Linked DNA regions of Homo sapiens: all the other regions are linked to region 1. The links are contacts of gene promoters, found by promoter capture Hi-C in blood cells and fetal thymus (Javierre and others, 2016). All regions are on one chromosome and are shown on one strand. The core of a region is centred on a gene start or on the middle of the fragment in contact, and the rest is flanking DNA. Distances in the headings are between cores, read along the strand shown.

The links. Contacts are between HindIII fragments. The CHiCAGO score rates a contact against its expected background, and 5 or more counts as called.
Region 2: a fragment that was not itself captured here is called in contact with the fragment with the promoter of SGK1 in region 1 in 1 of 17 cell types (monocytes); the score reaches 5.7 in monocytes.
Region 3: the fragment with the promoter of ALDH8A1 here is called in contact with the fragment with the promoter of SGK1 in region 1 in 10 of 17 cell types (naive CD4 T cells, naive CD8 T cells, fetal thymus and 7 more); the score reaches 11.2 in naive CD4 T cells.

Annotation. Positions count from the first base shown.
Region 1 is chr6:134,315,163-134,320,181 of GRCh38, reverse strand. SGK1 (serum/glucocorticoid regulated kinase 1) reads left to right here and starts at 2,070. Exons shown (of 14, transcript NM_001143676.3): 1 at 2,070-2,790. The coding sequence starts at 2,722. RefSeq lists an enhancer at 2,243-2,522. The HindIII fragment of the contact is 10,717 bases long and covers 1-5,019 here.
Region 2 is chr6:134,838,525-134,843,037 of GRCh38, reverse strand. The region is part of intron 2 of LOC101928277 (a long non-coding RNA gene); the gene reads left to right. Among named protein-coding and RNA genes, the nearest start is that of ALDH8A1, 110 kb to the left of the region's middle. The HindIII fragment of the contact is 406 bases long and covers 2,252-2,657 here.
Region 3 is chr6:134,947,046-134,952,080 of GRCh38, reverse strand. ALDH8A1 (aldehyde dehydrogenase 8 family member A1) reads left to right here and starts at 1,980. Exons shown (of 7, transcript NM_022568.4): 1 at 1,980-2,165. The coding sequence starts at 2,028. The HindIII fragment of the contact is 9,755 bases long and covers 1-3,892 here.

The DNA of each region.
Region 1 (5,019 bases), core at 821-3,320:
GAGGTGGCATGGAGTGAGGGAAAAGATAGCATTTAGCTTGTCTTCTCCTCCCTCATAATCTCTATTAACCACCCGCCTGCACCCCAAATGAACATACATCCTACATGAAACCAGGGTATTAGTCCGTTCTCACACTGCTAATAAAGACATAGTGAGATGGGTAATTTATACAGGAAAGAGGTTTAATTGACTCACAGTTCAGCATGGCTGGGGAGGCCTCAGGAAACTTACAATCAGAGCAGAAGGGGAAGCAAACACATTCTTCTTCACATGGCATCAGGAAGGGGAAGTGCTGAGCAAAAGGGAGAAAAGCCCCTTATAAAACCATCAGATCTCATGAGAAATCACTCACTGTGGGAACTACAATTCAAGACGAGATTTGGGTGGGGACACAGCCAAATGATATCAACCAGTATGCATGCTAGGCCAATGTGGGATTAAGCAAAGCCCCAGCACCTCCTTCCTAGCAGAGTGCTTAAAGGTCCCCTCCTGTATATTACTCAAATTCAATAAATGTCTGTTAAAACACTTTTGGGGGAGTGGCAATGGGACGAAAAAGAAAGAACTTGAATGACCATCATTTTTTAAAATGAGGTCCATTGAGGTATAATTTACATGCAGCAAAAGTTTCCCTTTTCCTATATAAAATTTGATGAGTTCTGACAAATGCATAGTTATGTAACCACCACCATCATCATGATAGAGAACACTTCCATCGTCTCAAAATAATTCCCTTTGAACTACCATAATTTTAAATGAACTCTTTAGAAGAACCACAAAAACTTATCAATGTTGTAGATTACATAACATATACTTGCATCTTGGACAACTTAACATATCTCTCCAAAATGAATAGTTGTTTTCCCTTGGTTATCATGCCATCATTTAGTTGTATTGCATTTTCTTTTTGGAAACCTCAAGGCATTTAGCAAACAGGATTTCATGTTTATTCCCAAAAACTCTGGCCCAACTGTAGAGATTTATAGTCCAATTCAATGAAACCCATGCATTTCTTTCCCAGTTTAACCTGATGTTTCTCTTCTTACCAGAGACTTCCATGTAAATACTTTAACAATGTTAGGTGTGTTATATATAATGAGGTCATAATCAGTTTCAAATTAGCATTGCGCCTTTCACTTATTTATCAATTATATTCCCTTGTGATGATTATGAAAAGGCTCCACATCCTGAGGACACTTGTCAGAGTTAGATTTATTAATGGAATGAAATAGCAAATAATGAATGACTAAATAAATGAATGAGTGAATGAATGAATGAGTGGCTGCCTCCATTTTATGGATGAGGCAGTGTCCGAAAGGCACAGTGAGGTCAGGTGATGGCAGAAAGCCACACACCGATGTTGGTGGCTTTCTGCCAGGTCAGATGCCAAGTTTATTTTCTTTGCTTTCTTGCTTTACTATCAACTAATCTTTAAAATCATTCCCATAAAATATCAACATTAAAGAATAAAAATGGAAAAATAAGCCACATACAATTAAATGGCTTTTTTAAAAGGAGCTCAGTGTGCAAAGGATAACATGAGTAAGGATTTTTTGGGAAATTTTTCACCTAATAGGAAGAATGCTTTACTCTTTTATTTATCAAACCTTCCTCATCATTAAATGGATTCAGTAGTACTTTTTGGTAATAACTCGTGTGTGTGTGTATGTGTGTAATAAAGTACTTTGTATATGTTCATTGTGTTCTTTTTTTAATAAGCTGTTTTAATGAAAAAGACACAATTACCGTCACCATTGCCCACTATATAATGACAAGTAGGGGAGGGGAGGCTAAAAGAGCTTCTACATAGTGAGAGATCTTCCATTGTTATACCTACGCTTGCACTTTATTTCATTTTCTTCCACGTTTGGACAGGTCGAGATTAAATGTGATTACATTTCCGTTGAGAGGCTTTTATTCAGCAACAGGATTCAAAAGAATGTCAATGAGCATAAAATAAAAACGGTGTGCAATTTATATGAAACTCTGATTTAAATGGTCCTAACCAAAAAAAAAAAAAAAGAAAGAAAGAAAAGAAGCTATTTAAAGTAACCCTCCCAAGGGGAGTCAACTGCTCTTCAGTGTGCCCTGAGCCGGCTGTGCCTTCTCTCCATCCGCTGCTCAGATATTCATGAACCGTTGCTTCTTCCAGCCTCGCCTTCTCGCTCCCTCTGCCTTTCTGGCGCTGTTCTCCCTCCCTCCCTCTGGCTTCTGCTCTTTCTTACTCCTTCTCTCAGCTGCTTAACTACAGCTCCCACTGGAACTTGCACAATCAAAAACAACTCTCCTCTCTCAAGCCGCCTCCAGGAGCGCATCACCTGGAGAAGAGCGACTCGCTCCCCGCGCCGGCCGCGGAAGAGCAGCCAGGTAGCTGGGGGCGGGGAGGCGTACCCTTCTCCCGCTCGGTAAGAGCCACAGCATCTCCCCGGAGATTGGCCGTATCCCACCGTCCGGCCCCCAGGGTCCTGCAGCGGTGATGCATATGTTTCGGAGCAATGATGGAAGGAGAAAAGCCGCTGTCGGTGGCAACTGAAAGTGGGGAGAGGTTGCTGCAGTAGCTGGTGCTGCAGAATGCGCGAGTGAAGAACTGAGCCCCGCTAGATTCTCCATCCCGCTCAGTCTTCATTAACTGTCTGCAGGAGGTAAACCGGGGAAACAGATATGCACTAACCAGGCGGGTGCCAACCTGGATCTATAACTGTGAATTCCCCACGGTGGAAAATGGTAAACAAAGACATGAATGGATTCCCAGTCAAGAAATGCTCAGCCTTCCAATTTTTTAAGAAGCGGGTAAGGACAGGTTTTGCTTATTTCTTTTGTTTTCTGTGCTTCTCTTAAATGCTTTTGAATGTTTGCCTGAAGTAAGCCTGAGGTTTTGTTGCTAAACCCTTAATGTAAGCCGTGCTTCTGATGGCAGTGGTAAAGCTGAGAACTATACCTGACTTGATTAGAATTTGTTGGAGGAGGGGCAGGGGGCTATGAAGAGTTGCATTGGGAGGAGGGGGTTGGGCTGAGATGCCTTAAACGGGTTTGAGCTGGGAATGGGGATTTTTCTCTCTCAAGCCACAACAAAGATTACAAGGCAGTCGCAAAGAGAACTGGCTTGAGTACAATTATGGCTAGTAATTTAGTCAGGGGCTAATTTAGCAGCTTCCTCTCATCTTTGAAGGGTTCAACTTTTCTACACCTTTCATCCACTCAGTCTCAAGTGATGCATTATCATCTTCGTTCGTCAGAAGCAGCAGCTTCTGGTTTCCCAAATCCATTCAGCCAATAATTTGCTGTGTCTCTATCTGTGGTATAAATAGCAAAGGAGTAGAATGACCTTTTACAGAAATGATGGAATCCAGCATTTAAAATTGTCTATTTTAAGTTGCCTCAATTTTTGCTTTTGCTTAGAATAACTGCCTTTTTTTTTTTTTTTTTTTTTTTTTTTTTGGGAGAGAGCAGTGGGAGGTCTGTATTTGAGTGATAATTCAGGGTTATGTTGCTGTATGCATTTATTTCTTAAACTCCTTATTCTTCAACTCAAAGTATGAATAATGTTGCATTGGTTGTAGGTGAGAAAAAAGGATTTTTTTGCATGTATATTTCACAATAAACTCAGTTCACTGGGATGGCCACACTGGTGGTCTGTGTAAATCTGCAAATTTATACACAAGCGGGAGGTAAGAAATGAATGATTGTTAAAGGAATGACACTGACACTCTTAAGGACAGTGTTTCCTAAGCAACGTAAGAGAAGGAACATCCTCCAGTCCCCAGTTGCCCCATCCTATTTAATACCCTAGGGCAATTCCACCAAAATGGTTCTCTCCATTCATTCCTCCTTCCTTTCATTCAGGTCCTTTCTGTGCCACTCCTGAAACACAGCCCTTCAGTTAACTCATCCGCAGAACACAGTGAATTTCAGGGTGGGCTGGACTATCTCCCTGCACCAAATGGGCAAGCTGGGAAGGCAAGGCTAGAAATGCAGGCAACATGTCAGGCCCAGCTAGAGGGCCAGCGAAGGCTCCCAAGCACCCTTGACTGAGTTCTCATCAGTAAAGCAAAATCTTTCTCCAAGTCTGTGGGCCAAAGCATATGCATTCAAACCAAAATGAAACCAACCTGTCCTGGCCCCTGCTCTTGGAGTGGGAGTACCATGTGAAATCTCACTAGTGAGCTGCAAGCTAAGTGAAAGCAAGTCAGTGCAACTTCACAGAGCTCCACAAGGCTTCTTAGTTTTTCTCTGTAGCTAAAATATTTCTTTCCAAGGGAAGAGCCCTTTATGAAAATTAATTTTCTTTCTTTCTTTTTCTTTTTTTTAGAGACGGGGTCTTGCTATATTGCCCAGGGTGGTCTTGACCTTTTGGGCTCAAGTGGTCCTCCTGCCTCAGCCTCCCAAATTGCTGGGATTACAGATGTCCACCACCAGGCCCAGCCCTAATTTTCAATAATAAACAAATGTTTTGCTAATTTTAAAAATGCCATAGCCCATTATCCAGTATTTAAACTCTATTGCCTTTTAATTACTGTATTTATTTCATGGTATTGGGGATATTCTAAAACTCCTCAGTCAGATGTTCTTAAGCAATGTAGATTTAAGTTACATAAATTTTAAATTGTCTTTTATTTTCTTTGTTATCAAAATGTACTAATAGAAATACTAATTTGCCATTTGGTTTTGTTTTGCTTAAAAGCAAGTTTACCAATAGACTTCAGTTGGTGACTCTGCAGACCTTGAATTTTGCAGAGAACCACCCAGGGTACTGATGTCTTATCTGAGTACATGCAGAAAGAAGTTTCTACCAAGATAACTGGCAGGCAGCTTCATCTAACTTCTAACCTGGGTCTATCAGTTGCTGGAGACAGGATCAGACATCTCTCCTGCCCCTGCGCTCTCCTTACTCCTCAAGGACAGTTAACTAAGTAGAAGGTGACCTTGTATCAAGTCATTGAATGCCCCAGGGATAAATTCTTTGATTTTTGTCTACTTTGGTTTATTCCACAAATTCTGTATTCTAAATGTTTATTTCTG
Region 2 (4,513 bases), core at 1,205-3,704, 520 kb before region 1:
TCAAGTCTTGCTCTTGTTACCCAGGCTGGAGTGCAATGGAGCGATCTCAGTTCACTGCAACCTCCGCCTCCCAGGTTCAAGCGATTCTCCTGCCTCAGCCTTCCAAGTAGCTGGGATTATAGGCACCTGCCACCACACCGGGCTAATTTTTGTATTTTTAGTAGAGACGGGGTTTCACCATGTTGGCCAGGCTGGTCTTGAACTCCTGACCTCAGGTGATCCGCCTGCCTCAGCCTCCCAAAGTGCTGGGATTACAGGTGTGAGCCACCGTACCCAGCCACAAAATTGTATTATCTTTACAAGTTCTTCAAGTTTAGGATTTGTTTTCTTGCTTATAATGAGGGGTAGTATTAATAGACTACTCATTAGGGCTGTTATGAAGAATGAATTATGTGATGGCTGTAATGCAGGGAGTACATAGTTACTCAAAATGGTTGTCAATACACAGAGAAGTGGAGAGGTAAATTATGATAAAGATGGAAGTTCAGATTAGGGGCCCTGCCTGGATCTGCTGATCCAGAAGACTGGAGAGAGCATGAGGCCATGGGTTCGTGAGTGTTTGGGGGAGAGGCCTGGGGAGGAAGAGAGGAGGGAAAAGTAGAGCATCTGGCAAGGGAGAAACATGCCAGCACAATTATCACCGACTTTAAGCTTCACACTTATCACAGCACCTAGGTGATGTATGTGAACTAGGATTAATAGAACGATGATGATGTCAATATATCACAATTAGGACAGGAAAAAAAAATGTACTGCATATACAGAAAAGAACTGTAGCATGTAATCCAAATTTTATGTAAATTCACTGACTTATGCAACCTGCTTTGCCCAGCATCGAGCTTGCTAGGTACTGTTCTAAGCACCGGGGGGTACAGCAGTGAGAATAACAGCCTGTGGCCACGGAGCTCACATGCTTATGGGGGAGGCAGACAGAAACCAATAAATACAGAATCTATCAGGTAGCGATGAATGTTAAGAAGAAAAAAGAAGGTAAAGATACAGGAAGTGTTGAGGGATGGTGTTTTAGATAGGGTGACCAGAGAAGTCCTCTCTAATATGGTAAAACTTATTAAAAAACAAAAACTCTCTTCATTTGTTCAACTTATTGAACATACCCATTTGGAGTACCAACTGTGTGCTAGGTTCTGTGCGAAGAGATGGTAACACAGTCATGGAGAAGAGTCACAAATTCCTTCCCTTTCATGGAGCTTTCATTCTTATGGAGAGGAGGAGAAATAAATATATAAACAAATAAATAACTTCAAACGGTATAAATGTGTAAAGGCAGTAGATAACAATGGGGAATATGATAGAATTGTTCTTTGGAGGTGGGGGCAGGGATAGGGGAAATGGGTGAGCAGTTGTAAGGCAGAATTAACAACTCTAGGCTGGGTGCAGTGGCTCATGCCTTGAGCTCAGGAGTTTGAGACCAGCCTGAGCAGCATAGGGAGACCTTGTCTTTATTCAAAAAGTAAAAAGAAATATAAAAAAGAATTAACATCTCTAGAGGACTTTAACAAATGCATGATAAAAATTATAATTTAGACTGGGTGTGGTGGCTCATGCTTGTAATCCTAGTGTTTTGGGAGGCTGAGGTGGGCAGATAGTTTGAGCTTAGGAGTTCAAGACTGGTCTGGGGAACATGGTGAAACCCGTCTCTACAAGAAAATACAGAAATTAGCCAGGTGTGGTGGTGCATGCTTGTAGTCCCACCTACTCAGGAGGCTGAAGTGGAAAGATCACCTGAGCCCAGGAGGCAGAGGTTGCAGTGAGCCAAGATCATGCCACTGCACTCCAGCCTGGATGACAGAGCCAGACCCTGTCTCAAAAAAAATTATAACTTTATTTTAACATGTAATATGTATATTTGTAGTCCTAGAACATCTTTAATACATCAGAATATGTTAATAAGAATTTGGTCACAATTAATTTCTATGTATGAGAGTATGAAAAAAATTGCTGGGATATTGTATATATCCCCCCACATTTTTTTAAAACCATCTCCCTATTGATGGACCCGATTTTTCCTCTTTATGGTTCCCCATGACTTGAGTATTTTAAAGGAGTGGCTAACATTCTCCATACTCTTCACTTACTTGAACCATCTCAGCATATCCACCATGTGCTGACATCTCTAGCTAAATGAAGTATGCTTAATATTGTAGTTTAAGGCACTCTGGTTATTTCTAGAGTAATCTTGAGATCTTTACACAGCCCAGTATGGCTACCCTTACTCTCCCAAAGTGAAGCTTAATGTCAACTTTTTCAGATCTACTTTCTGCTACTGAGACAATGTTTAACAATTTGTAAATGATCCCAGACACAAAAAGCCTTATGATGTCTTTTTTCAGTGGTTCCAGCTGGAGAACTGCAGGATGGATTCCTTCCAGCCATTTTGAAATTGAGTCAAAGTCTCTTCTTTAGAGAGTTCATTCTTAAGATATTTTGTCCCCATGACTTAGTTACCTAAAAACGTAGTAATTTGCTCTCCTCAGATTTTAAACTGCTTTTCCAGGTAAACACTTCTATTTCTATAGCTTGAAGTGATGATAAATAATATGCTATTGCTTTCCTTTCTGTAAGTCCAGCCCGCACCACATTCACTTATCAATAATTTACTGGCAGCTCTGCCTAGATATGCCATAGGGTGAGAAGCTTACCATCTAAAATGAAACTCTTCTTTCCCCTCCAGTTGGTTCTACCTCCTGTGTTTCTTCTCTTGGTTAATGATTTCCCACTTCAGCCACTTCAGCCAGAAATCTAAAGGTCATTGTCTTTCTTTTACCCACCCCTCTCACCAACTGCTGGTGGGTGAGTCCTATTGTTTCTACTCCTTAACGTCTACAAGATCTGGCCTCTTGGCCGGGCGCAGTGGTTCACGCCTGTAATCCCAGCACTTTGGGAGCCCAAGGCAGGTGGATCACCTGAAGTTAGGAGTTCGAGACCAGCCTGACCAATATGGTAAAACCCCGTCTCTACTAAAAATACAAAAAAAATCAGCCAGGAGTGGTGGCGTGCACCTGTAGTCCCAGCAACTTGGGGGCTGAGATAGGAGAATCACTTGAACCCAGGAGGTGGAGGCTGCAGTGAGCAGAGATTGCACCACTGCAATCCAGCCTGGGTGACAGCAGGACTCTGTCTCAAAAAACAACAACAACAACAAAAATCTGTCCTCTCCTCACCATGCCCCAGCTGTTGTCTCAGTTCAGCCCTCATTTATTCTCTTGTGCTAGTTTTAAATTCATCCTTCACACAGTTAACTGAGAGATCTTAAGACGCAAATCTGATTATTTAGCACTGTGTTACTTAAAATTCCTCCTAGGTTTTCAGTCAGTGTTTACAGATTAAAATTCCTTGGCATGGTGCAGAAGACCCTTCTTCACTGGGGGTCAGGCCAACCTCATTTAGACTCATCTTGTTCTGTTCCTTGTTGCTGTAGTTCCAGCAACCATCCTCACGATCATTGTGCCACACATACTGTGCCAAGGGCCTCCCGGGTAGGATTTCACTTACTTTGCAATTAATGTTCACAACATTCTTATCAGGTAGGCGCTATTCTTACCTCCATTTTACAGTAGGTATAACATTCCCAAGGTTACACATGTGGAGAATTGAATTTTCAATACAGGTCTGCTTTCTGAAGTCTGGGCTTGTGACAATTTTGCCTTACATTATGTCCATTTCTCTTACCTGTGGCACACTTCTTTAGCCCCATGGCATTCGCACCTACCATCTCCCTTGGTCAACGTGCCTTCTGCCACACTCACCTTCAAGGACGCTCTTTAGACAGTACTTCCATAGGGCAGTGGGATACACCACACTCTCCTTCAACTTGCATTACGCCCCCTCCTCTCTTGTGGCTCTCATAGTTCTGTATGGCACTTATGTTTTGCATGTCTAGTATGGTTTGGCTGTGTCCTCACCTAAATCTCATCTTGAATTGTAATCCCCATAATCCCCACATGTTGTGGGAGGAGCCAGGTGGGATATAATTGAATCATGGGGACAGTTTCTCCCCATACCGTTCTTGTGATAGTAACTGAGTTCTCACAAGACCTGATGGTTTTGGAAGTGTCTGGCATTTCCTCTGCTTGCCCTCATTCTCTCTCCTGCCGCCCTGTGAAGAGGTGTCTTCTGCCATGATTGTAAGTTTCCTGAGGCCTCCCCAGGGATGTGGAACTGTGGGTCAGTTAAACCTCTCTTCTTTATAAATTACCCAGTCTCAGGTATTTCTTCATAGTAGCACGAGAACAGACTAATACAAGTTCGGACCCCCACCTCTGGGCTATGTATTCCTTGGGAGCAGAAAGAGTATTTTATTATTTGTAGAACTCTAGTGCCTAGTACAGTATCTGAAACATGGCAGGCTAAATGCCCATCAGTGATAGACTGGATAAAGAAAATGTGGTGTGTATATGTGTGTGTGTGTATATATATATCATGGAATACTAAGCAGCCATAAAAAAGAATGAGATCATGTCCTTTGCAGGGACATGGATGGAGCTGGAGGCCA
Region 3 (5,035 bases), core at 731-3,230, 630 kb before region 1:
TCCGGCTTCTGTCCTCTTCTACTGTCACGTGGCAGAAAATTCCTCTCTCATGCTATCCTGGGTAAAGTCCTTTCTTCAAAAAGATCTCCCTTCCATAGTCCTCCCATTAGAATCTTTTGCACTCTGTACAAAAAGACAAACATTCTGATGAGTCCATCAACATTAGGCAGAGTTGTTGGAGACCCAGGAAGATGGGCTACAGAAGTCTTTATGCACACACCGGGTGGTACTCACTGTCTCTCAGCACCAAGCTCACTTCTTGGTACTTCACTCTGTGGTGCCAGGGCTGGGACCTGCGTATTTCTCTCATTCTGTTTCCAGCTGACCTGACCGTGGGCAGCACCAGAAAAAGCCTGAGACTACCTTCTGTCTCCAGTCCCTGTCAGCGACTCTCCAGCGACAGGCAACGGCGCCAGCTCCAGACTCCAGCTGCTCTGGGCCTCCCAGAATCAGCCACACCATGCTTGTCAGAAGTCTCAGCAAGAATTTTGGAGAATATCTAGAGACCAATAAAGATGGAAGCAGAGAGGGCCTAAGGAGGTGCACGGCCAGCAAGTGCCCTCATGTGATCAATGAATTTTAGAATATTGGTACCTAACCTTCAACTGAATTATAACTATAAATCATAATTATAAAAGTAATATAGGCTTGCCATAAAATATCCAAGCAGTTTAAAACGGCTTCCTGTCAACCATGTAAATAGCCAAAGAAACTATGCTGTATATATTATTCACTAGTTTTATTTTTTCACTTAACAATGCATCCTTCTAATGTCTAAGTAGTATTCCCTGTTAAGAATATAACAATTATACTCTAATATTCTCCAATTGATGGACTTTAGGTTGTTTTGATTTTTAAATTATGATAAAAAAGGATGTCCTGTGACTTATGTACTTGTTCATGAGCACGTAATTCTGTAGGAGAGATTCCTAGAAGAGAAATTGACCAGACCCTGACAAATTGCCCCAAGCAGTGTTCTGTGAACCCTCCCGCCTATGGACTAGGGATGATTCTCCACATCCTCACAGAGTAGATGTTCTCAATCTTTAAAAATGCTCTCCAGTATGATTGGCAAATCAGGCCACCTCTGTATTTCACATTCCTTGCTTAACAACAAGGCTGAACATTGTTAATATATTCATTAGCCAATTGTGTTCCTTTTCCTATGGATTGCTTTTTTGTATCTTTGCTTATCTTTTCTGTTGGGGTGCTCATTTCTCTTACCAATTTGTAGAAATTCTCAGCTACATCAGGGATCTGAAGCCCTTGCTATATGTGTCACACATGTTTTTGGCTTGTCTTTATCTCCATGGCACATCTAGGAAGATGTGAGCAGCCACTGTGGCCCCGGTTTTGGGATGGAGAGACAGCTCTTCCAAGAGAGGGCAGCCAAGGTAAAGAAACACAGATGAGCCACGGAAAGAGGGCATCTGTCTTCAGTTACCTCTGCAGGGTAAGCAGTGATGCATTGAGGAAAAAGTATATGATTTGGAGATTAAAGGGCTACAGTTCATCCCCTGCTAACTATGTGACCTTGGAAAAATGGTCTAACCTCTCCAAGGCTCAGTTTCTTCTATAAAAGAGAGGAAGTAATGGTTACTTCATATAGGATTGTTGTGTGGAATAAACGAGTAAATTCATGTAAAGGACTTGCTTTGGGGCCTGGCATCCAATCAGTGTTTGAGCAATGAACAGTTTACGGTGTGAACCCAATAAAATCACATGCACAGATGCCTTCTGATGATTTAAAGGGCTATGAACACATAAGTAAGTAGCTGTTACTTTTACACACAATTATCCATGTCAGGTAATGTACTAGAAGTCTGTGAAACATTCAGCCACTCTCTTAGTTCTGAGTTTGGAGACTGGAATGCTCTCTGAGAGCGTCAGGTGCCCTCCCACATTCACTGATTGGTAAAGGGGAAGATGGGGGCTGGGAAGGGGGAGGCTCACTCAGGAGTCCAGACAGTGGTGGGGACAACCTGAGTGCTCAGTCGTAAAGAGGAAAGGCAGAATTTTTCCTTGCTATGGCTGGAACAAACGCACTTTTGATGCTGGAAAACTTCATAGATGGAAAATTTTTACCTTGTAGCTCATATATAGATTCTTACGACCCATCAACAGGGGAAGTGTATTGCAGAGTGCCAAATAGTGGAAAAGACGAGGTGAGTATATGCACTTAAAGAAGACTGAAATGTGTTTAATATGTTGGCCAATTATGGGTAACAGTTTTCTAAAAGCAGAGGGAGTTGGGGGAAGATGTAGGATTGTTAAACATGATAGAAGGAAGATTCTAGTTCTCAGAAGATGTACCTTGTAACTGGACTGTATGATACCTAGAACAAATCTCTTCCTATATGCAGAAAGTAAGTCATTTTTCTAGCCAACCTAACACAGCCCTGTGTGCAGTTTTTTTTTGCAATTCTCAAACATTTCCTAATCAGTGTCTAGTACAAAGTATTATTTGTAAGAGCTATCACTTTGTTAAATATTCCCTTTTCTCCACCACGCACTGCTTAAATTTACCACTATATCCATGGAATTAAAAAAAAAGTATAGCTTTACTAAAATAAACAAACAAGCAAAAAACTGTGGGCTTTGTTTTAGATTGTCTTCTCATAATTTGTCATGTCTTCAAAATACCTAGTAAAATAAAATCAATCATTTGAATGATGAAACTCAAAATCAAATTCCCATATATTTTTGGAGTTAGATTTAACAGCGTCTTTTTTCTTATCCAAAGTGTTTAATGGCATATGCATTACATTTTTTTGGTGATGTAGAATTAATTTTACTTGGAGAATTTTGTAAAATATTTGAGATATATTTGATTAGCTATCAATTATTGCACTGAGAATGTAAATATATCTGAAGTGGTAAATGTAGCTGATGTATATATAGTCATCTAATGCCTTATGAATTATAATTTATTCTTTTTAAGGCACAAATAACTAGATTATTTAAAATATAGTCTTCCTATAAAAATATATATTCCATGCAAAGTTTTTTTTTAAGAACATTGCTATTTTTTTTCTTTTTTGTTAATACTTCAAATCTGTCTTGCATTTAAAGTAAACCTTCAGACTTAGGGATTAATGTTTGCAAATGTTGGTTAATGCATTGGTTAAATTATAAACTGCAATTTTGTTTGCTTCAAATGACTTAACACAGCTCTGGGAAATCCAGCTTTGTGTTTTCCACTCTTCCTTGTTTGCCAAAGTGAAGTTAAAAATGACAAACATGCCAAATTCAGCTGAAATATTTCCTGCAGCTAATGGCTCATAACTTTTTAGAAAATAGAATGAGCTATGGATGCGCTAGCTAGTAGAGTAATAGATATGTTCAGTTTCTCAGCAATCCAACTTCCAAATATCCTATCTGATCCCATAAGTCATAGTTTTTTCCGGCTTGAAAAATATGGTTACCATACAAACTGCATGTCCAATTTCCAAAACATCACTCAGGAAAATGTTGCTGGTGCTGCTAACAGTGGCTCCCGTTTATTCAACTTTTGCTTTGTGCTTTGCAGTCATTAAGCCCTTTTTTAACAAAAAATTAAAAAATTGATACATAATAATTGTACATCTTTATGGGCATATGTGACATTTTGATACATGCATACAATGTGTCATGATCAAATCAGGGTAATTAGGATCTCCATCACATTAAACATTTATCATTTCTTGGTGTTGGGAACATTCCAAATCTTTTCTTCTAACTATTGTGAAATATACAATAAATTATTGTTAACTATTGTCACTCTACTAGAACTTATTCCTTTTAACCATATTTTTGTATTAATTAGCCAACCTCTATCCTCTCCTCTACCCTTCCCAGCCTCTGGTAACCATAATTGTACTCTCTACCTCCATGAGATCAACTTTTTTAAGCTTCCACATATGAGTGAGAACATGTAATATTTGTATTTTTGTGCCTTGCTTACTTCACTTAACGTAATATCCTCCAGCTCAAATCGTGTTGGTGCAAATGACAGGATTTTGTTCCTTTTTATGGCTGAATAATATTCCATTGTGTATATATACCATATTTTCTTTATCCATTCAGCTGTTGATGGACATTAGGTTGAGTCCATATCTTGACTATTGTAAATAGTGCTTCAACAAATATGGGGGTACAGGTATCTCTTCAGTATACTGATTTCCTTTTCTTTGGATAAATTTCCAGTAGTGGGATTGCTGGATCATACTGTTGTTCTATTTTTATTTTTTTTTTTTTGAGAAACCTACATGCGTTTTCCATAATGGCTGCACTAATTTACTTTCCCACCAACACTGTATTTGTCTTCCCTTTTTTTTTGCAGCTTCACCAGCCTTTTTTATTTCTTATTTTTTGATAATGACCATTTTAACTGGGATGAGATAATAACTCGTTGTGGTTTTGACTTGCATTTCCCTAATAATTAGTGATGTTAAGCATTTTTTATATACCTGTTGGCCATTTGTACATCTTCTTTTTGTGGAATATCTCTTTAGATCATTTGCCCGTTTTTAAATTGGATTTTTTGGGCGGTGGCTATTGAGTTGTATATGTATATATACAAGCTCAAGCTCCTTATATATTCTGGTTATTAATCCCTTGTCAGATGGATAGTTTGCAAATATTTTCTCCCATTCTGTAGGTTGCCTCTTAACTCTGCTGTTTCTTCTGTTGTGCAGAAGCTTTTTAGCTTGATATTATTTTATTTTGTTTATTTATTTTCTTTTGTTGCCTGTGCTTTTGAGGTCTTGCCCAAAAAAATCTTTGCCCAAATCAGTGTCATGAAGTATTTACCCTATGTTTTCTTATAGTAGTTTCATAGTTTTGGGTCTTACATCTATCTAAGTCTTTAATCTGTTTTGATTTGTTTTGGTGAGAGATAGGGGTCTAGTTTCATTCTTCTGCATATGGTTATCCAGTTTTCCCAGCACCATTTATTGGAGAGACTATGTTTTCACCAATGCATATTTTTGGCAGCTTTGTAAAAAACGAGTTGGCTGTAAATGCATGGATTTATTTCTGGATTCTCTATTCTGTT